Regions from separate parts of the Homo sapiens genome. Here regions 2, 3, 4, 5, 6 and 7 are each linked to region 1. The links are contacts of gene promoters, found by promoter capture Hi-C in blood cells and fetal thymus (Javierre and others, 2016). All regions are on one chromosome and are shown on one strand. Each heading gives the region's core, a stretch centred on a gene start or on the middle of the fragment in contact. The rest is flanking DNA. Distances are from core to core; before and after follow the strand shown.

Region 1 (3,213 bases), core at 552-3,051:
GACCATTGTCATTCCTTCCTCTCAACTTTCTGCCTGGGTCAGGAGTGACTTCTCCAAGATAAGAACTCAAGGTTGACACAACAGCTCGATAAACCTATTTTCTCACCCTAGCCTAGGGGAAGTGGGAGAGAAAAGAAATCAGAGGCCCAACTTAGGAAGTCCTTCCCTGACTGTCTCAGTAGTCTTTAACTGATCTGTTGTCCAGGTGGCTACCCAGGACAAACTGGGCTCATACAAAAGCTGAGAAGGGTGCTGTGGAGAACGCCAGTGTTTCAGGGGACCTTGCTTTGCATCTCCCCATGCAACACCAACATTAGCAGATTGGCTGCTCCAGCTCTAGAATCTCGAGAAGTCTTGAGCCCACCTTTGACATTTAGACACCTGTGTTGGAAACAGCAAGGCTGGGGAAAAGAGTGGCAAGATACTACTTTCATTGTTCCATAACTTCAAAGCCTGATCTCATAGCAAGAGCCACAGGCTGGAAGTCAATTGATTTGAATTCTACTCCTGTTTCATCTCTAAGAAGGTTCTCTTGAGCAACTCATTTAACTCTCTTCTCTATGGAAAATCACATACTCCATCCAACCTACCACCTGTTAACTCATTTTTTTTTTCAATACTTATGAGTCTCTTACATGACAGGCACTGCAGCAGTCTCTTGATGAGGAAGAAATCCAAAAAGAGTAAAATGTAGGCCAGGCTTTCTGTAAGCTCATAATCTGCTGTGAGGGCAAATAAACAACTAACTGTAATACAGTGTGATGTGAGCTTTAATACCCGGAACAAAACACTAAGAGAACCCAAAGGAGGAACTTGTAAGTTCTACCCAAAGTCGCCCCAAGAGCCAGAGGCTTAAGAAATGTAGATATTTTATAAAATACGGTGTCATACTACATTAAGCACAAAGACAGCGGAGTTGGACCAAGCGATAAGGCTGACCACCAAGGGCCGACTTCAGACTGATGTCAGACTTCTCTGACATCAAATCCGGGAAGTGAGGAAGGAATCGAAATCACATATGCACTCCCCTGTCCTTTGGAGGCACTCCGGGAGTCCAGGGACAATAATAAATATCCTTAAACGAAATAATAATAATAATAATAATAATAATAAATAATAATAATAATAATAATAATAATAATAATAATAATAATAATGCATAGGCCGGGCGCGGTGGCTCACACCCGTAATCCGAGCACTTTGGGAGGCCGAGGCGGGCGGATCACGAGGTCAGGACTTCGAGACCAGCCTGACCAACATGGTGAAACCCAGTCTCTACTAAATACAAAAATTAGCTGGGCATGGTGGCGCGCGCCTGTAATCCCACCTACTCGGGAGGCTGAGGCAGAAGAATCGCTTGAACCCGGGAGGCGGAGGCTGCAGTGAGCTGAGATCGCGCCATTGCACTCCAGCCTGGAATTCAGAGCAAAATTCCGTCTCAGAAAAATAAATAAATAAACAATAATAATAATAAAGCATAAACTCAAAAAGACCATTTCATCTGGTTCCAAAGGGGCCGACTACTAAGGCACCATACAAAACCTCCGGGGGCGCCCGCTGGCTCCGGCCGACTGGAAAGCCTTGATCCTGCAGACCTCCCAGGCGGTTTCATAGGCTGGGCTCTCCCTGCACTGAGTCTTACCCCATACGGAGGGAGGGACCCCAAAATATAGAAATTCTAACCACCCTCTCGGCTCAGCCCCGACGACCCTGGGAGCCGTCAACTTGCCCCCACAGTCCCGGATTCCCAGCCCCCTACTTCCTCACCTGGTCCAGCTCCCCATCCCGTTTCCGGTTCCTTTCCCCCACCCCAAACCCAACCCCCGGCGCTAAGGACAGTGGGAGTCGTAGTCTACATTGTTTAGGGAAGGAGATTGGCGTACCCGCAGCCACTTCCGCCGGAAATGCTCCAATCCCGGAAGGCGCACTAAATTAGCCCTAAAGATCGCTGGGAATTGTAGTTTAATCTTTCCATCAGCGTTAAATCAGGAAGTCTTGAGAAGTGAAAAGCCACAGCCTGTAAGTACCTAGGAAATCCTGGGTTCTATCCCTAAAGGGCATCGCCCTTCCAAAAGTTCATTCACTATTTTCCCAAAGGGATTGCAAATCAGGAAGCTTCAACCATCCCCAATCCCTCACCCACCTGAAGGTATTAACAATAGCTAAAGACCATTGCTAGGCCCCCTGCCACCGTGGGTATAAGAGACTTCTCCTTTGCAGCCTGCCATTACTTATACAGAACATCCACGAAGACATTTCTGGTAGCTCCTAACAACTTTTTAGCAAGGGGCATCCCCCATTACTGTCCAAGCCCATCTCCAGAGTGTCACCATTTTGACTTCTTTCTCTGCCTTGCTATCTGCCCAACCCTATAACCTCAGTATTAGTCAAGAGTTTTCCAGAGAACAGAACTAACAGGATATCTATCTATATGACGAGATTTATTCCAAGAATTGGCTCACAGGATTGTGGAGGCCAAGAAGTCCCACAGTCTCCCGCTCTGCTGTCTATACACTGGAGAACCAGGAAAACAGGTGGTATAATTCAGGAAAGTCCAAAGCAGGGGAGGAGGCTCACTGCTAAGTCCCAGAGCCTGAAGGACGAAGAACCAGGAACTCCAATGATGTCCAAAGGCAGGTAAAATAGATGTCCCAGCTCATGAAGAAAGAGAATTTGCCTTCCTCCACTCTTTTGTTCTACTGGCCCCCAAGGGATTGGATGGTTCCCACCCATATTAATGAGGGTGATCTTCTTAGTCTACCAATTCAAATGCAAATCTCTTCCAGAAACACTCCACAGACATATCCAGAAATAATGTTTTACCAGCTATCTGGGTGTCCCTTAGACCACTCAAGTAGACACATAAAGTTAGCTATCACTCTTCCATCCAAATCTTCTCCCTCAAATACTTTGTCCAGGAAGGCTTCCCTGATCAATCCTCATCCCATGGCTGCACCTAACAGTCCATTCCCCCACCATTCCCCCATCCCAATATCTATGTCCAAATCTGTCCTATTCCTAGTTTTGTTCTTGTGCTCTATCTGGGTCTGGTTCTGTGTCGTGACTCTAAAACTTTCATTAGACTGGGAACCCCCTAAGGTTAGTTATCTTCTATATTCCTCCCACCCCACAATCTCCACACACCTTAGCACAGCCAAGGCTCTAATCACAGAAGCAAGGTCTCCCTGTGAGTGGTAGAAAAGGAGACCTATA
Region 2 (3,055 bases), core at 263-2,762, 420 kb before region 1:
GCTTCCCTTTGGGGCCCTTTCTCTCCCTAGCTCTGATCATCTCAGACATTTCTGACAATCCTTGCTGAGGCATCCAGGGCTTGGGACTGAATTCATCTATTTAATTTTGCAAGGCTGGTGAGTGCCTGATTCACATTGCTCCTGCCCCTTTTCTGAGAATCTACCTGCCTTTGTCTTTGCAGTCCTTAATTTCACCAGTTTCTGGGAAAAAGTATCCTTCATCTCCATATCGGCTCTTGGTTACCAAGAAAAATGGAGGAGATAATCCAAAATAGTGAATGAGACGAAGATTATTATTTTTTTTAAGTGATTGAATCCTGGCTAAAGATAATCCATGAAGTGAACAATCTGGATGAAAGTAATCCATCATGTTACTCTTCCATGGGTGGGTATATGGCATCTGGAGAGGGAGGCTGGTGGGAGAGGGCCTCAGCTTGTTTAGCTCTCACTTTTTTGTCAGAACCATGAGATGTCTGTGGAGAACTCTGCAGAACCCATTTCTATGCTGTATTTTTAAACTCTGGAGGAGGCCTGTTCCATAGTTTGAGAACCAAATACTTAGTTCAAAGAACATGACAATCAGTAGCCAATATGCAAAACTGCCACTTCATCTAGGGTTTCCATGATACCCAGTGTGAAAGTCAAAGTCCTCACAGTGACTCTATGGCCCGCCATGAATGATCCGGCCTCCTGATTTCTCTCTGACCTCATCCCCGACTACTTCTTCCTATCTCACTCTGTGCCAGCCCAAGATGGTCAGGTGCCATTCCACACCCATCAGGATGGCTATTATTAAAAAAACAGAAAATAGCAAGTGTTGGCGAGAATGTGGAGAAATTGGAACCTTTGTGTACTGCTGGTTGGCAAGTAAAATGGTGCAGCCACCGTGGAAAACAGTAAATTGGTGATTCCTAAAAAAGTAAACTTAGAATTACCATATGACCCAGAAATTCCACCTCTGGGAATATATCCAAAAGAAATGAAAGCAGGGACTCAAATTGATATATGTACACCCACGTTCATAGTAACATTATTCAGAATAGCCAAAAGGGAGAGGCAACCCAAGCATCTATTGATAGATAGACAAACAAACAGATAAACAAAATGTGGTATATACATAGAGAGAAATATTAGTCACTCTAAAAAAGGAAGAAAATTCTAATACACGCTACAACACGGATACTCTTGAAGACGTTATGCTAAATAAAATAAGCCAGACACAAGCAGACAAATATTGTATGATTCTATTTATATGAGGTACCCAGAATAGTCAAATTCATACAGACAGAAAGTAAAGTGGTGGTTTCTAAGGAATGGGAGCAGGAGGGAATGGGAATTTAATGTTTAATGGGCACAGAGTTTTAGTTGGGTAAGATGGCAAAGGTTTGGAGGTGGATGGTGACGATGATTGACCCTCATGTGAATGTATTTAATGCTGCATTTATTTATTTATGAGACGCAGTCTCACTCTGTTGCCCAGGCTGGAGTGCAGTGGCACGATCTTGCCTCACTGCAACCTCCGCCTCCTGGGTTCAAGCAATTCTTCTGCCTCAGCCTCCCAAGTAGCCGGGACTACAGGTGCCTGCCACCACGCCCAGCTAATTTTTGTATTTTTAGTAAAGATGGGGTTTTACCATGTTGGCCAGGATGGTCTCAATCTCTTGACCTTGTGATCCACTTGCCTTGGCCTCCCAAAGTGCTGGGATTACAAGCGTGAGTCACTGCGCCCTGCCTTATATACTTTTATTTTTACTTTTTTAGAGACAAGGTCTTGCTCTGTCACCAGGCTGGAGTGCAGTGGCATGATCACAGCTCACTGCAGACTTGACCTCCCAAGGCTCAGGTTATTCTCCCACTTCAGCCTCCTGAGTAGCTGGGATTACAGGCGCTTGCCACCACATCTGGCTAATTTTTCTATTTTTTGTAGAGATGAGGTTTTGCCATGTTTGCTGGTCTCAAACTCCTGGTCTCAGAAGATCTGCCCGCCTTGGCCTCCCAAAGTGCTGGGATTACAGGTGTGAGCCACCATGCCTGGCCTAATGCCACATTTAAAAACAGTTAAAATGGTAAATTTTATGTTATGTACATTTTACCACTATAAACAATGGCCAGAGTCTTTATATTTGCACTTCTCAGAGATCTGCACCATTGCTTTTTCCTGCACCTGCTCCTGGCTGCTGGTGAAGTGTCATCTCAGCAAGGCCTTCTTGGACCACTTGTTTTAAAATCTCAACTCCCATCCTGATCACATCCTAACCTTTACTTGCTTTACTTTACAGCACAAACCACAATCTAACACAATATATATTCTGTTTTTTTTTTTTTTTTTGAGATGGAGTCTTGCTCTGTCACCCAGGCTGGAGTGCAGTGGCATGATCTCGGCTCACCGCAAGCTCTGCCTCCTGGGTTCACGCCATTCTCCTACCTCAGCCTCCCGAGTAGCTGGGATTACAGGTGCCCGCCACCACACCTGGCTAATTTTTTTGTATTTTTAGTAGAGACAGGGTTTCACCGTGTTAGCCAGGATGGTCTCGATCTCCTGACCTCGTGATCCACCCGCCTCAGCCTCCCAAAGTGCTGGGATTACAGGCGTGAGCCACTGCGCCCGGCCTAACACAATATGTATTCTTACTACTTGTTGTTGTTTGCTTCTTCTTGCTGGAATGTAAGTGACTTGAGTGGAGGGATTTTTTTGTGTGTGTGTTTTAATTGCTGTATCCCCAGTGCTGAATAGTTGAGGACCGGTAAATATTTGTTGAATGAATGAATAAGGGACCATGACTAGACATAGACTTCTAGAGAAGGCACACACAGAAAGAGAATATGAGAAGATTCTGTTTTTTGTTTGGCCTTAACTAATTTCTTCTAGACCTTGGATATATAACTCAGACCCTGTGTTCATGATGGCTTTTATACAGTTTACCTTTTCTTACGTGTTTTGAACTGTTTGCATTTAGAGCTGTTGGTGCACTGCGTACGCCATGGTTATTATTATTTAAAGCGGTCACCTTGAACACAAAGCCTCTACTCTTGTATTTCTGATTGCCTCCAACCA
Region 3 (3,058 bases), core at 84-2,583, 490 kb before region 1:
AGCAAGGAGTCATTAGCATTTTCATGATGGTGTATTTCTGCTTGTCTCCGCGCCATCACTCATCTTTACTGCCCGTCCCTTTGCTCTCGCGCTGCTACAACGAGGAGAGACTGCAGCCTGAGTCGGGGCTGGGGATGGGGGGAGATGGGGGCCAGAGATCCGCGCCCCCCACGCCGCTGTGCCCTTCACGCCAAATCCTCACCCTCCCTGAGACGCAGATCGGGGGTGAGAGGCTGGAAACAGACGTAGGGCCTCAGCTTCCTTCTGCGGCTCCTCCTGCCCTTGAAGTGTGGGAGCAGGGGGTCCTGCCCAAATGGTGCTTGGAGATCTGAGCACAGTGGGGTGGTGGGGGGTTACACCCCTTCCTTTCTCTGGCTCTTCACTTGCTGACCTACACTGAGAGCTCTTCAGGGTTATCCACATAGGAGTAAATTCAAGAATTCCTGGCTGAGTGCCTTGGGCTGGAGACATCAGTGTAGGAGAGGGCAAGAGGGAGGAGACCCCAAATCCTTGGGTTTGGAAAACTGGGTTGGCAGGAAGTTGGGAGCCCGGACATTTGGTTTCTGTCTCTGCGATCCCCTAAAGGGCCCTTTGACCTTGCTCCGGGATAAGTTCAAGCCTCCAGTCTCCACCCTGATTCCCCAGCTCCTGCTCCCTCCTAATTCCCTAAATCCTGGACTCTTTCTACACAGTCATTTACAACCAGACCCTCCAGTACTCCAAGGAGCTAATTTACACCCTCCATGCAAATAATGGAGATCAAAATAGTTACTGCCAAGGAATGAGCTTAGAGACAGTTGGCTATGTGTAAAACACTGCCTCCAGATGCCCGAGGATGGTTGGAGTCCCCTGTCCTCATCTCTGTTGTCTTCTTCTTGTTCTTCTTCTTGTTCTTCTTGTTCTTCTTGTTCTTGTTCTTGTTCTTGTTCTTCTTCCTTCTTCTTCTTCTTCTTCTTCTTCTTCTTCTTCTTCTTCTTCTTCTTCTTCTTCTTCTTCTTCTTCTTCTCCTTCTTCTTCTTCCTCCTCCTCCTCCTCATCTTCTTCTTCTTCTCCTTCTTCTTCTTCCTCTTCTCCTCCTCCTCCTTCTTTTTTTTTGAGATGGAGTCTCGCTCTGTCGCCCAGTCTGGAGTGCAGTGGCGCAATCTCGGCTCACTGCAACCTCCGTCTCCCAGGTTCAAGCGATTCTCCTGCCTCAGCCCCTGGAGTAGCTGGGATTACAGATGCATGCCGCCATGCCCGACTAATGTGTGTGTGTGTGTGTGTGTGTGTGTGTGTGTGTGTGTATTTTTAGTAGAGATGGGGTTTCACCATGTGTGTATTTTTAGTAGAGACGGAGTTTCACCATGTTGACCAGGCTGGTCTGGAACTCCCGACCTCAAGTGATCCACCCACCTTGACCTCCCACAGTGCTGGGATTACAGGCATGAGCCACCGCACCTGGCCTCATCTCTGTCTTCTGATAAGACACTAACATATAGAAACATTCATTCCAGGTTGGGCACAGCCTGCCTGCATATCTTATTGCCCCCTATTTGAGTGGGGGTTGGTTGGCATATAGGCTAGGTTAAAGGGTGATGGGGAAGAGGAGGCAGAAGTAAAGGTGGTGAAGTGGAAGTGGTAGCTAGGAAGACATTAAGAGTGATAATAAAAATTAGTGGACCCCCTTCCTGTTGGTCTACTGCTTTCCCATTTTATTTTATTTTATTTTATTTTATTTTATTTTATTTTATTTTATTTTATTTTATTTTATTTTATTTTATTTGAGATAGAGTCTCACTCTGTTGCCCAGGCTGGATCAGGGCTCACTGCAGCCTTGACCTCCTGGGCTTAAGCAATCCTCCTGCCTCAGTCCCTGGAGCAGCTGCATCCACAGGTGCATGCCACCACACCCGACTAATTGTGCTTTCCCATTGATGCCTCACAACAACCTGAGAGGTAGGTTTCATGTCCTCCATTTCACAGAAGAAGAAACCAAAGCTCAGGTTGGGAGATACCCAAGGACAATTAGGTGGTAAACAGAAGAATCAAGATCTGAACCTGGACTGTCTTCATCACCTGAAGCTGCCTGAGAAGGAGTTCAGGGTCTCTAAAGTAGAAGCCAGGATGACTAATAGCTCCATATAATTCATCTGGGTTCATAAGAAAGTGAGGAAGTCTGTCTGGTAAGAGCTTAAGAATTTTGAGAGAAATTTTACTAGAAATATTTATCTCGTGGTGATTGGGTCTAGGTAGTCGGGTAGTTACTATCATTGCTGGGATCTACCTCTCCCTAATCATTTAGTGAACATTTATTAAGCATCTACTATGTGTCTTCTTTTGATTGACCCCACCCTCCCCTTTCTCCACTTCCCCTACTGAGATGGGTACCTAATAGAGTTCTCAGGTCCTGGGCAGGGGTAGAGGCCCAGGAGAAAAGGAAGGTGTGGAGGTGAGAGCCCCCCATAGCCTGCACAGTGCCCAGAGGCGGCTGCAGCGGTGGCTCCAGATTTATAGCTGCCCCGGTACTGATGCAATAAAAGGAAACGATCCTTTTCTGTACTAATTTCTGTGTAATTAGATCTCTCCTGGCATGGAAAGTGGGGAGTGGGGGTGGCCAGGAGGGGAGGGTGCCAAGGACTCTTCACAGAGTCCTCCTTGGGAGGAGGGACTGCTGGACACACATGGCTTCACGTGGGGCTGGTTGGACAAATGGATCTGCACACACTGTGATGCACACAGGAAAGCAAGGAGGTGGAGGAGTCTTGATATGTCAACACACTTGTGTGCAGGATGGGGACAGACAAACCTGGGATCCTGCACAAAGATCCTGGAGCCAGAAGAACTAACTCCCGGGTAGTCTGTACACACAGAAGATATTGAAATCCTCAGAGGAGCTGCATACAGATTTCCCTGTACTAAGCTAGACACCAAGACCCCAGACCCTTGTTCAGAGAGGCTTGAACAGCAGAGAATTCCTTCAGATTCATCCACATTTACATCCACAGATACAAAACAATATATACATACACTTGCAGGAATACATATACATACATACACTTACTTGCATGAAAGCACATAC
Region 4 (3,359 bases), core at 293-2,792, 370 kb before region 1:
CAGATTCTGTGCTTGTATTAAAACCAATCAGTCTAAGAGATCCTGGAGGTTAATAGGCCCACATTCCTATCAGGAAGATTTCCACTGTGTCTGCCCTGATTGCCTCCTTCTTCAATAAATTAGTCAAATTGAAAACAGATTTAAGGATAGAATTGATTCCACTGCTACTAACGTTATGAGGATAGACCCTTCTGTGTCCTGAAAGCCTGCAGTGGCTGGAAATAATACCTCCTTTCTCCCAGCCCCTGTGTTTGCTATCGGGAAGGACTGCTGGCTGCCTTGGCCCCTGGTGGATGGTGGCAGGTCCAGGTTTCTCCGTGCATAGTCACTGTGAGAATCTGGTAGGAAATGGGCTGTTTCAAAATGGTCAATTATTTCTTTTTCCATTCTGTGACATCTTTGCTGGGGATTTGTAACCTTAGGCTTGCTTCTCCTCCACAGCTCTAAACAAGCATGTGTTAAGGAAAAGCAATCTGATGTCTGCCTAAATATAACAGGTGAATATTGTACCAAAGCTTCATATAATACGTTTCAGAACCAAGTAGATTTTAGCCATTCTTTTTCAGTGCCAGTGTTCACAGAGTTTAGGAATTAACAATTTGGGGTTGAAGTAGGAACATATAGAGAGATTTATCCTGCATTATGGTTGTGACGATTTCTTATCCCATTTTAGGGGGTTCGATGTTTGGGAGGAAGCTGAAGGTAGAGGACTTTTCAGCACTACTGTTTGGGGATATGCTGATGGAGGTCAGTCCCACTCTTTCTAGTGACCCTGTAACTGTCCCTCCAGGAGAGGTGTCCTTTCTTAAGTCTCCTAGAGTCACTTTATTTTTATTAAATTAAATTAATTAATTAATTTTTGAGATGGAGTCTTGCTCTGTCACCCAGGCTGGAGTGCAGTGGCATGATCTTGGCTCACTGCAACCTCCACCTCCAGGGTTCAAGTGATCCTCCTGCCTCAGCCTCACGAGTAGGTGGGATTACAGGTGTGTACCACCACGGCTGCCTAAGTTTTTATATTTTTAATAGAGTCGGGGTTTCACCATGTTGGCCAGGCTGGTCTCTAACTCTCAACCTCAGGTGATCCACCCACTTTGGCCTCCCAAAGTGCTGGGATTACAGGCATGAGCCACTGCACCTGGCCTCCTAGAGCCACTTTAGATCAAAGCTTTCAGTCCATCCTGTCACAGATAGGTTTAGTGAACCTAAAGCAGGAGTCTAGTATTTGGCCTCTCTGCTTGGGCATGGATTACAGGGGAGATCAGCCTGCAGTATTTGCCCATGTTAAGTTGTTTTTGTAGGGTGAACCCTCCAAAGATATTGAGTAATGGGTACATATTTTGTGTTCTGTTTTGTTAGAGACAGGATCTTGCTCTGTTGCCCAGGCTGGGGTTCAGTGGCACGATCTCTGCTCACTGTAGCCTCTGCTTCCTGGGCTCAAGTGACCCTCCCACTTCAGCCTCCTGAATAGCTGGGACTACAGGCATGCACCACCATGCCCAGCTAATTTTTGTATTTTTTGTAGAGAGTGTTTCGCCATGTTGGCCAGGCTTGCTAATTTTTTTGTATTTTTAGTAGAGATGGGGTTTTGTCATGTTGCCCAAGCTGGTCTCGAACTCTTGGCCTCAAGCAATCCTTCTGCTCGGCCTTCTGAAGTGCTGGGATTATAGGCATGAGCCACCTAGCCCAGCCTTAGGATGTTTCTTGTCTTCAAAATTCCTCACATGGCCCAGCCTGGTAGCCTTGAGAAGAGTACAGCAAGGGTACTGGAGAGGGCTGAGTTCAGAGGGGGCTGAGGGGCTTGATAACCTATCTTAGAATTCCTGGGTTCCCAAATGAAGGAGAATATTATTAGTTGCTAGTCTCATCTTCCAAATAAGAGAAAAAGAGATAAGTTAAAGCTGGAGGTACTGAAATTAAGCTTAACAAAGGACTTCTACTTCTATTTATTTATTTATTTATTTATTTGAGACAAGGTCTTGCTCTGTCACCCAGGCTGGGGTGCAGTGGTATGATCATGGCTCACTGAAGCCTCTACCTCCCAGGCTCAAGCAATTCTCCTACCTTAGCCTCCCAAGTAGCTGGGACTACAGGTGCATGCCACCACACTCGGCTAAATTTTTAATTTTTTTATAGAGACAGGGTCTCACTATATTGCCCAGGCTGGTCTCAAACTGCCGGGCTCAAGCAGTCCTCCTGCCTTGGCCTCCCAAAGTGCTTGGATTACAGATATGAGCCACTGTGCATGACTAGCAAAGGACTTCTTGATAGTTGGCACACAACCGACTCATTTAGTTTGGAGTCCATTCTGTCTTCCTCCTGGGCCTTGTTTTCTGCTGCTCCATGTTGGGGCGAGGGCTAAGTGTGGTTCTGACATCTCTCACTTCATCCATTTCCAGGCTGACCTGGCTGACTAGATGGGAGTCCCTACCTCCCTCTCCTTTTCATGTATGTCCTTCTTGAAGCTACATAGTTTTTTTTAAAAAACAACAACAACAGAGAAGCACTTTTCTTTGGTTAGACACAAGGATCTGTCCTTCTTGCTAAACTGTCAAACGAGCTCCCTGTGTTAGTGAGGTCTGCACATAGGATGAGGCCAGACCAAGAAGTTGGATGACAAAGCAGATTCCAGGGGCTAGAACTCCTAGGGGATAGTGAGCCCTCAAATTACTTTCCTAGGGAAAGAGGTCATGAGTGAGATTTAAAGCTCTCACCACTCTCTCAGATGGTTGGGCTTCTCCCATACATGGCCAAATGTTGTCTTGGAGAGTCCTGTCATGCCACACTCTAACCTTTTTCTTTTGTAGTCTGCTTACACTGGGAATGAACCAGTTATAATGGAGCAGTAGCATCTCAACATAGGGTATTATTGATGACCAAGCCCCTCTCCCCCTCTGGCTAAACTCCCATTCAATCATTCGCTACCTCTGGCAGTTCATTTCTTGCCACAACTTGCATTCTGGCATCATTGCTCCCCCCACGCAACAGCTGATGACATCTCTTGGCCTCCCCCATCCATTCAGCAATACCTCTCCCCCCAACCCGCCTCCTCTGCCTGCTGTCCCAGCCTGTAACCCTGATCTCATTTCCTCCTACCTCTCACACCATTTTGAGACCTCTTGCCTCAGCCTGTGCCTGAGCTCCTTCCTTTGCTGCTCCTCTTATTCCTTTGCAGAGCCCACTATGCTCTGATCTAGGATTGTACCTGCACATTTGTATCTTGCCCAAGAATCCAGGAACCAGAGGACTCCCCAGAGAAAAGGGTGGCTCCTATCCCCATGTTGCCCCCAGCTCCTCAGTGGGGTGGATTTCATGCCTGGGTTGTGTGTTGTTTGTCTGTCTCAGACTTTGCAGCCCCT
Region 5 (3,093 bases), core at 265-2,764, 260 kb before region 1:
CCACAGATTTTGATACTTGATGCTGAAGCTACCAAGTAAAGGTTGAAGAAATGTTGGAGAGGGAGGTGCGGCGGGTGGGGATGTTCCTTACTGTCCTAGGTATTTGTAACCAAGGTAGATTTTGAAGTTATTACAAACATGTTCCCTGTTCAAATAGCATGGACCCCATTCTCCAGGCTCCACTGTGTGAGGCGGGTTTACAGCCTCAAGGTTCTCCCTGAGGTTGGGGATAGGGAATAACGCTAATCCTGCATTATAAAAAATAAAATAAAATAAAATAAAAATCCTGAAAGCTTAATTATCGAATAATTCAGATAAGTCCTCCTCCCGTCACTCACCTTTCGATTATTTGAATAATTCAGGAAAATGCAAATTCTGATTGTTTGTGGAGACTCATCATCGCTGGACAGTAAAAAGAGAGAGAAACAAGGAAAATCTAATAGAGAACAGCGCTCCAAGATGGTGAAATGGGTCTTCTGTGCATTTTTCCTTGTGTAGAAAGATAGAGTTGCCTTCCTGGGCATTATTTCCTGGAAGATATTGTATCTGTTGTGATAAAATGTAGAGTTAGATCAAGTCACCAAAATGCATATATGTGTGTGTGTATATATGTGTGTATATACATGAGAGAGAGAGAAGAGGGAACAAACATGGGTTTCTACTTGTGTCTATGAAAAATTTTATTTCTTGGCAGAAAGAATATTTGGGCTCCATTTTGTTTGTTTGTTCTTTGTTTTTTTCCAAGAAGATCATAGCTGGGTAGGACCAGTCTCCTCCACATAGTTTTTAAGCTGAATATGCACTTGCAAAGTGAAGTTGGGGCATCACCCACATAGCCTTCAGGTGGAAACTCGACTTGAAACTGCAAATTCAGATTTGTCTTCCAGGTGTACTGGCAGAGCATCTGAGATCCCCTGTTGGCTTCACAGCCTGAGGAGTGAGCCCAGAGAAGCCAGGAGACTGCAGTGGGTGTCTCCGGACCTTGCAAAGAACTCACTTTCCTAAAGGCTGAACTCAGAGCTAGACATCCTGAAGGATCAAGTCATCAAGGATCAAGGAGCAGTCATGTTTGACGGGGAGAGGGTTGGTTGGGCTTTCTTCTTCCCAGGATTAACCACATTTGGGAAACTTTTTTCAAGGGTGAGGGTGAGGCTAAACTTTGAAAGGTAGTGAATCCGCTTTTCTTATTGGTAATATTTGGAAGGAAAAATTCACCACTGTTTATGACCTTGCCCCTACTACTTAAAGTACAGAGCATTTTAAAGATAAGACTTAAAATAGGAAATTTGTAGACCCCAGTGCACCAAGTTTAGAAGTAGATTTGAAACATGACCAACTGTGAGTGCATGTTGTCATTGTAGGCTTCTGTATAAGACATAACCATGCCATTTCATATGTATTATATTCAGCAAATGACAACAAATACACAGCCACATCAAAATTAATAATAAGATTCCTGAGAGCTGAATAGTTTGCTTTCTTCCTTTGCCGTTATTCCAGCTAAGATTAACCAGCTTTTCAGAAGTCTATTATCATGGTTTCTTTCCCTTTGGTTCCCAGCCCTTGCCCACCACCTCCTACTTCCCCACATTTCTTTTTGAGCCCGAGATTCACTCAACCTTCTTTGACAAATCTTTATAGGTGTATGATTATCTTTGTCACACTTTCCTACCCCAAAACTGGGCATAAACCACAGAAAATAGTCTTTTTATTCCTTTGTTTCCCCATTTGGGAGGACCCCTTTCCACAGGGACCTGTGAGGGGAGAAGAAAGGGAAGGCTGATTCTTGGTTCACACAAGCATGCTCATGAATGCCCAGGCCCTAGGGTGAGTCCGCTGTCTACCCACACACTCAGAGCTCTCCAGGAACTTACTTGAGTCTCTCCTACCCCCACAAATAAATGTACCCACCTGTGTGCTCAGCAATAGGTGCACATAACGTGCACACAGGGCATCAGTCAGGATTGCGTGTGTGACTATGCCTGCCCCACTGGACCTGCTCTGGCGCCAGGTAGTGTCGCGGGCGCTTCCTAGTGCGGGCACTCATCCTGCCGCTCTCCGGTCGGCCATTTATTGTCTTGTGGGGAAGGGCTTTCGCCAAGAAACTTGGTCTGGGTTAGTGAAATAAAATACTAAACAATTACTATATGTAAAATTTTAAAACCAGCATATTAAAATAAACTAAGGAACTCTCTGTCGTGGGAGAAATCCACAGGAAAAGGAAGAGAAGGAGTTAGATGCTGGCGCCGAGTTCCTGGCGGAGCCAGGCGGCGGTGACTCCTCAGGCTGAGCGGAATCGCCATCCAGGCGCCGGAAACGACCCGAATCCCAAAATCCGTGGAAGAAAATTGCGCTGAAAGAACAGAGCCAACGCCCCCGTCCTGCCAAGTTTGGCGAGACGGCAAGTTGGCTTCAGGAGCACAATGCCGCTAAATGATGCCTAAGAGAAAAATTCTCCCAGAGAATTGTCTGGGAGCAACAGCAAAGACATGGTGTTTTTATTCTCTTAGACATGGTGTTTTTATTATCTATTAAAAATACAACTCTAAAAAGCATCTCTGCACTTACATATACCTACATACCATTTCCGTTTAATGGCTGACTGCATTAGAAAACAACATGAATGGAAATGCATTAACAAAGCATCTGTACTAATACACATCTTTACCCACAGAACTATACGTTGGTCAAGCCTCCCCCCATCTCAGCATGAGCATAAACACAATTAAAGCCTTTAAGCTTTTTCATTAAACATAACTATGTTGTCATATTCAAAGAATATATTATTTTTTAAAAATTGTAAGATTGTTATATGGATAATAAGGTAATCCTAATTATATGGATATGGGTATCTGAGGACACATTTCTTATGTTAATATTTATCTGAAGTTCCTATAACACCAAACAAAACATGTATTACATACTTTCTTGTCTAGAAATAAGTCTATAATAGATAAGAGGAATAAATCTGTATTTCTTCTTTGGAGGGAAATTCATTAATAAGCCAAGCACTGAAAAGAGAGCTACAAGTGCTTTAAATCACAAATACAGGCTATAGCAGACTATTCTCCCAAGGCCTTGGAGTAGGAGAAG
Region 6 (3,169 bases), core at 124-2,623, 280 kb before region 1:
TTTCCTGTTCATATCCTTTGCTCTTTTTTTTTTTTTGAAACAGGATCTCACTCTGTTGCTGGAGTGTAGTGGTGTGATCTCAGCTCACTGCAGCCTCAAACTCCCAGGCTCAAGTGATCCTTCTGCCCCAGCCTCCCCAGTAGCTGGGACCACAGCCACGTGCCACCATGCCCAGCTAATTTTTGCACTTTTTGCAGAGAAGGGGTTTCACCATGCTGCCTAGGCTTATCTTGAACTCCTGGGCTCAAGCAGTCCTCCCACCTTGGCCTCCCAAAGTGCTGGGATTACAGGCATGAGCCACCGCACCTGGCCTGCTCATTATTTTTTTAAATTGAATTGTCTTTTTCTTATTGATTTTTAGAGTCCTTCACATATCTTGAATGTTAATACTTTGTCTAATATCTGCATTGTAAATACCTTCTGCCAGTCTGCAACTTATATAGCAGTGATAGTTAATGGTGTTTTTAAAAGAATGAAGAGTATTTAATCTAATTTTATCAAATTTTTTCAAACTTTTCCTTATGATTTTGTTTTCTGTGTCGTGTTTAGGCAAATATTTCCTATTCCAAGGTCATACAGGTTTCTCATTTATTCCCTCATTTGCTTATTTATTTGACAAATATACTGAATGCGTACTTTGTGCCAGGTACTGTTCTAGGCTTGGCAGAAACAACTGTGAGTAAGACAAAAGACCCAACCTTAATGACTTAGATTCTAGTGTGGGAGAGAGACAATAAACAATAGATAAATAGAAAATAAAACATGAAGAGAAAGTAAGATACAGAGATAAAGAGAAACCAATGGGCTGCTCTGTTAGAGTGGTCAGGAAAGGCCTCCCTGAGAAGGTAACATTCAGCAGAAAACAGAATATGATGAGGGAGCAAGAAATGGGAATATCTAAAGAGAAGAACATTCCAGGCAGGGGAAACAGCAAGTCCAAAGGCCCTAAGATGTTGGCGTGATTGATGGGTTATAGAACAGTCGAGAAAATGGCTAGTGTAGCTAACTGGCATACATAAGGGGAAGAGCGGTAAGTGCTTACTTAGAGAAGTAACCAGGGATTTTATTCTGTGATGAGAAGCCACTGGAGGATGTTAAGCAGGGAATTGATTTACTTTTCACATGTTCATTATGACCACTATCATAACATCCAGGAGGCAAAAACGGAAGCATGTAGATGGGTTAAGAGTTTATTGCTATAGTCTAAATGAAAGGCGATAGTGACTTAGACCAGGGCAGTAGCAGAGAAAATTGTGAGAAGTGGTCAGATTCACACTATACAACATGACCCCAAAAGCACAGGCAACAAAAACAAAAACAGACAAATGGGATTGCATCAAACTTAAAAGTTTCTGTACAATAAAGGAACCAATTAACACAGTGAAGAGGCAACTCATAGATTGGGAGAAAATATTTGCCAATCATATATCAGATGGGGGCTTATATCCAAAATATATAAGGAACTCAATAATAAGAAAACAAACTACTCAAACTACTCAATAATAAGAAAATTAAAAACTCTATTAAAAAAAAGCAAAGGACATGAATAGACATTTCTCAAAAGAAGACATATAAATGGCCAATAGATAGATGAAAAAATGCACAATATATTTTGAAGTTAGACCTAGTAAGATTTTCCAATGGATTTGATGAGGATGTTAGCACTATTTTCTTAAATGGGAACGTTGCAGGAGGAGAAGTTTTGGTGGTAAAATGCATACTTTGTTTTTGATCATGCTAATTTTGAGATGCCTATTAGAGGTCTAATTTGAAACTTTTTTTTTTTTTTTTTGGTAGAGAAGGGGTTTTGCTTTGTTACCCAGGCTAGTCTTGAACTCCTGCCCTCAAGTGATCCCCCTGCCTTGGCCACCCAAAGTGCTGGGGTTACAGGTGTGAGCCACCTTGCCCAGCCAGCCAAGTTGAAATTCTGAACTGAATGTTGAATATATGAGTGTGGAGTTTAGGGAATAGATAGAGATGTAAATTTGAAAGTCACTAGCATAATGTTTCTTGCCTTAAATTCTCATATATTTTCCTCTAAAGGTTCTGTGCTTTTCCTTCCTTCCTTCCTTCCTTCCTTCTTTCTTTCTTTTTTTTTTTTTTCATTTGACGGAGTTTCACTCTTGTTGCCTAAGCTGGAGTGCAATAATGCAATCTCAGCTAACTGCAACCTCCACCTCCCGGGCATAAGCAATTCTCCTGCCTCAGCCTCCCTAGTAGCTGGGATTACAGGTGCCTGCTACCATGCCCAGCTAATTTTTGTATTTTTAGTAGAGATGGAATTTCACCATGTTGACCAGGGTGGTCTCGAACTGCAGACCTCAGGTGATCCACCCACCTGGGCCTCCCAAATTGCTGGGATTACAGGTGTGAGCCACCGCGCCTGGCCTGCTTTTGCTTTTTCATGTTTAGGTCTTTAATCCATTTGGAATTAATTTTTTTATATAGTGAGAGAAAAAGATTGAACTCTCCCCTCCCTGTGCCCATGAGTAGGCTTTCCCTCACTGGTTTGAAATGTCAGATATCAGATTTAAACAGCACAGATCTGTTTTCTGGGTTCTCTATTCTTTTAAGTTGGTCAATTTGACTATCAAAGATTCATTATCACTGCTATCATAATATCCAGGAGGCAAAAATGGAAGCAAGAAGACTGGTTAAGGGTTTATTGCTATAGTCTAAATGAGAAGTTATAACTTAGAACAGGGTCTGTGCAAATACTACACTGTCTTAATCATTACATGATTCAGTCAGGGCTTAGTGCAAGAACAACTCTAGATATTTCAAGCAGAAAGGAATTTACTACAGGGAATCTGATGCTTACAGAGTTGTTGGAAAGGCTAAAAAGAGCAGGAGTCAAATATGGCTCACACACTCGGTCTTGTAAGACGGCACCCCAGCCTCACAAGGTGTTGTCTTCCAGCTGGCTGTGTAACTCTCTTCATTAGACCATTCTACCATTCCATAGTGTCAGCTGGGATTACAGGCATGAGCCTCCGCACTTGGCCCTTTAGGTATCTTAAAGTCAATTTTATCTCATATTATAGCATCTATTCTGGCCAGGCGCAGTGGCTCAGGGCTGTAATCCCAGCACGTTGGGAGGCTGAGGCGGGCGGATCACCTGAGGTCAGGAGTTCAAGATCAGCCTGGCCCATATAGTGAAACCCTCTCT
Region 7 (3,183 bases), core at 630-3,129, 430 kb before region 1:
GCAGGGCATTTGCCAAGATCTGGAGAGGGAAACAATCATCTTCCTTCTGGAGTGAAGGGTGGGACGGGAGTTATTTTCCTAATATTTAGAGAGGCTGTTTTGTCCCACGATGTGAGACACATCACCTGGAGGCCAATCCCCTAGAAAAAGAATAGCAGTTGAGAGACGGCTTTCCTTTTCCTGTTTGGGGTGTGTGTGTGTGTGTGTGTGTGTGTGTGTGTGTGGTAGGAAATGTGTTGTTGGAGATTCTATATCATTTCATTTTCCCTAGCATTTACCAACCCTAACTCAAAGGAAATCCTTTCTAAAGTCTATTCTACATTTCTTTTGCTGACAGTAAGCCCACCTCTTTAGTGGAGGTATTATCTAAAGTCCAGGATCTGGCTCAATGTCTTTTGTAAAAGATGTGTGTATGTCGGGGAGGGGAAAGTAAAAGATGGAACTTGAAGAAATGGAATGACCCAGCTCCTGGCTTTAATTACAGTAAGCCCTGAACATTCTGAACTTTATTAACCTCTTAAGTGTCCACAGGGGTGGGATGGACCTGGTGGGTTTTGCTCCCTGGTCCTCTCTGCAGGGCGTCTCTGGAGGGTCCCCTCTCTACGCTCTTTGCCCATCCCAGCCTTTGGCTGCACACCATTTCTCCTGGCCTCAGGTGGCGCTATAAATCACCTCTCCCAGAAAGGAGGCTACCACCTACCTATCCAGTCCATGTCTCACCAGCTGTCTTCATCTTGCCCAAGATCCTCTGGTTCTTTCTTCTCTGCAAATCCCATATGCTTTCCCCAGCACCAGTTTTTTGGATAACCTGATTAGCTGTTTTGGAGAGAGGGGCTCTTTTTGCAGGGACCCCTTTCTCCTCCTAAGTGTCTTACTAATTACAAACAGAGAAAGCCTGGTCTGTGAAGTTAGCCTGCCCCCAGCTCCCTGGCTTGGTGGAGGGAACCAGGAGCTAGGGGATTTAAAGCGCAATTTCCTGTGGCCTTTTCATTTCCTGCTGGGGGTTGTGGAGAGCAATAAGCAAGGTGGGTGGCAAGGGCCAGAAGGACCGGCCAGGTGGGGGATGGGCTGGGGGAGCCTTCCCTCCATGTACTCTTCTACCATCCCCTTTTCTGGCTCTCGAGGTAAGTTCTTTGGGGATGAAGCACCTGATAAATGAGGACCTGGAACTCCTTACAATCTCCCTCTTACCTCCCCAAAGTAAGAGAACGGAGTAGAGAGGAGTGGGAAAAGATCTGATTATTGTAATAATAGATGATACCACAGGAAGGAACCTTGGAAATCAGTTGGATCCCTTGAGGTTTTATTTTATTTTAAATAGAGATGGGGGTCTTGCTATGTTGCTCAGGCTAGGCCTTGAAATCCTGGGCTCAGGCGATCCTCCTGCCTCAGCCTTCCAAAGTGCTGGGATCACAGACGTGAGCCACTGCACTTGGCCTCTTTCAGGTTTCAGATGAGGAAATGGAGGCCTTGGAGAGGGCAGGTAACCTGCTCAAGGTTATGTATGTAAGTGGTGAGCTGGTGTGGCTGGGATTTAGCTAACTCTCATGATTCACTGTTTAGTGCTCTTTCCTCAGTCAGAGTCAGAGTGGGCTGTGGGTCAGTGATGTGTGTGTGTGTGTGTGTGTGTGTACTGGGGAGGGGGGATGAGATGGGAGGAAGTGGGGTAGGGAGCAGGGGATCTGGGGAGGTACCTGGATAGCAGGGGACTCCGGGTCCTGAAATGTTCACTCTTTGGTAGGTCCTGTGGAAGAGCGCAGGCAAGTCCTGACTTAGGGAAGCTTTTGTGAGCTGGCTCAGGAAACAGATGTGTGGATAAAAAGGAGGGGAGAGGGAGGAACTGTGGCCCTTGGAAACTATTAGCCCAACATCTCTTCTTCCCCTCTCCACAGTCAGAGGTGGATGAGGTGGGGGAGGGGCATGGCAGAGGACAAAGGAGCCAATTATTGAGTGAGTGGATTAATTGATTAATTGTCCAGAAGCTTCCAGTGCTCCCCAACAATGACATCCCCTCCCCCGACCCCAGTCAGGCATGGCCTCGGTTGGCCTGGATTATTAATTAGGGCTTGAAGTCATTTAACGATGATTTCATTATCGACGTGCTGTCTGTCTCGGGCTCAGCCCGGTTGCCAGGGCGACTCTGATCGATTGCCTTCCGGTCTTCTTGGCTTGGCCGGCTGCTTCCTTTCTGGAGCCTGGCTGTTGGCGAGCACTCCCTAGCGGCCCTCTCTGGTACTGCAGAGCTTCCCGGTTGCAGGCTTGAGAGACTCAGGCGAGGAACAGAGAGCTACAGCTGCCTTGGGGGTCTTTTCAGCTACTGACTGACCTAGCTGTTGCCTGGGAACCGGCTTTTCTCCTTTTCTCCTAGGTTGTGAAGTCCTTCTGATTCTGTCCCCTGGCCTTCTACCCATACCCCTTTGGGATGGGTGTAGGAATAGGTAGGGACCTCAGTTGTTTCCTCGCAGCCTTTCAATTTACCTCTGGGAGGCCCAGATAAGCTGTGATAAAGTTATTCCTGCTGCTAAGGAGACTCCTTAGGCTCTGTCTATCCTGGGACATCTGGCCTCTTGGACCTTGCATGAGGCTGGCAGGGAAGGAGTGGATGTGGGGATAATTTCCCCTTAGATTGCCTGAGTTAATGTTCTTAGGGTCTTCCCCGGCCGTGAGAGGAGCTGGGGGAGCTGGTCTTTGCAGAGCTCAGCTACTTCCTCAGCCTCAAGAAAGCCTGGGGAAAAAAGGCAGGGTCCAGGTTGTCATGCTAAGTCTTAGGTCTTCAGAAACTTGGCTGGTTACTCTATCTGTGGTCCCTGAAAACCTAGATTCATGCACATTCAGTGGTCTCAGGATCTCTACTCTATGCCTCAGTTTCTCCTTTCATGGGTTTCATGTATATATTTGTGGGGTCTGTTAGTAGAGAGTTGCTTGAAGGCATCGGTCATGGCTTCTCAGTAGGTGTCTAAATTGTTGACCCCAAAGTAATTGGGCGTCACTGGTGTCTTATCTCCCTTATCCTTTGCATGCTGCTAATTTTATTCTCAAATGCAGATCTCTCCTCAGTCCTTACCTCTCTTTACTCCTCTCCCCTTGACCCCTGACCAAAGACTGTCCCCAGCACCCTCCCCAGAACATGCCTCCCTTGCCTGCCTTCCTCTATTTCTCCTCCTCCTCTGCCCCACTTCCCCT

Evidence for each region. The method cuts DNA at HindIII sites, captures the fragments that hold promoters and counts their contacts. A CHiCAGO score of 5 or more calls a contact.
Region 2: a fragment that was not itself captured here is called in contact with the fragment with the promoter of SMUG1 in region 1 in 3 of 17 cell types (endothelial precursors, M2 macrophages and M1 macrophages); the score reaches 12.1 in endothelial precursors.
Region 3: a fragment that was not itself captured here is called in contact with the fragment with the promoter of SMUG1 in region 1 in 6 of 17 cell types (naive B cells, naive CD4 T cells, total B cells and 3 more); the score reaches 7.8 in naive B cells.
Region 4: a contact is called between a fragment that was not itself captured here and the fragment with the promoter of SMUG1 in region 1, in 1 of 17 cell types (erythroblasts). The highest score is 5.1, in erythroblasts.
Region 5: a contact is called between a fragment that was not itself captured here and the fragment with the promoter of SMUG1 in region 1, in 9 of 17 cell types (naive B cells, total B cells, naive CD4 T cells and 6 more). The highest score is 13.7, in naive B cells.
Region 6: a contact is called between a fragment that was not itself captured here and the fragment with the promoter of SMUG1 in region 1, in 2 of 17 cell types (naive B cells and total B cells). The highest score is 6.0, in naive B cells.
Region 7: a fragment that was not itself captured here is called in contact with the fragment with the promoter of SMUG1 in region 1 in 12 of 17 cell types (total CD8 T cells, endothelial precursors, M1 macrophages and 9 more); the score reaches 11.8 in total CD8 T cells.

The regions. Positions count from the first base shown.
Region 1 is chr12:54,187,184-54,190,396 of GRCh38, forward strand. SMUG1 (single-strand-selective monofunctional uracil-DNA glycosylase 1) reads right to left here and starts at 1,802. Exons shown (of 4, transcript NM_001243787.2): 1 at 1,768-1,802; 2 at 636-719. It overlaps LOC105369777 (a long non-coding RNA gene), which reads left to right and starts at 1,914. Exons shown (of 3, transcript XR_944984.2): 1 at 1,914-2,019. The HindIII fragment of the contact is 2,636 bases long and covers 1-2,113 here.
Region 2 is chr12:53,772,256-53,775,310 of GRCh38, forward strand. All of the region lies in intron 1 of LOC105378250 (a long non-coding RNA gene), which reads left to right. Among named protein-coding and RNA genes, the nearest start is that of CISTR, 22 kb to the left of the region's middle. The HindIII fragment of the contact is 3,173 bases long and covers 1-3,055 here.
Region 3 is chr12:53,697,217-53,700,274 of GRCh38, forward strand. No RefSeq gene overlaps it. Among named protein-coding and RNA genes, the nearest start is that of ATP5MC2, 23 kb to the left of the region's middle. The HindIII fragment of the contact is 7,437 bases long and covers 1-3,058 here.
Region 4 is chr12:53,813,836-53,817,194 of GRCh38, forward strand. All of the region lies in intron 1 of LOC105378250 (a long non-coding RNA gene), which reads left to right. It also overlaps the pseudogene RN7SKP289. Among named protein-coding and RNA genes, the nearest start is that of CISTR, 64 kb to the left of the region's middle. The HindIII fragment of the contact is 753 bases long and covers 1,167-1,919 here.
Region 5 is chr12:53,928,740-53,931,832 of GRCh38, forward strand. No RefSeq gene overlaps it. Among named protein-coding and RNA genes, the nearest start is that of HOXC13, 8.5 kb to the right of the region's middle. RefSeq lists an enhancer at 1-101. The HindIII fragment of the contact is 2,446 bases long and covers 292-2,737 here.
Region 6 is chr12:53,910,865-53,914,033 of GRCh38, forward strand. No RefSeq gene overlaps it. Among named protein-coding and RNA genes, the nearest start is that of HOXC13, 26 kb to the right of the region's middle. The HindIII fragment of the contact is 5,776 bases long and covers 1-3,169 here.
Region 7 is chr12:53,755,120-53,758,302 of GRCh38, forward strand. The region is part of intron 1 of LOC105378250 (a long non-coding RNA gene); the gene reads left to right. It also overlaps a transcript of CISTR not described here. Among named protein-coding and RNA genes, the nearest start is that of CISTR, 4.7 kb to the left of the region's middle. RefSeq lists an enhancer at 2,275-2,324. The HindIII fragment of the contact is 201 bases long and covers 1,780-1,980 here.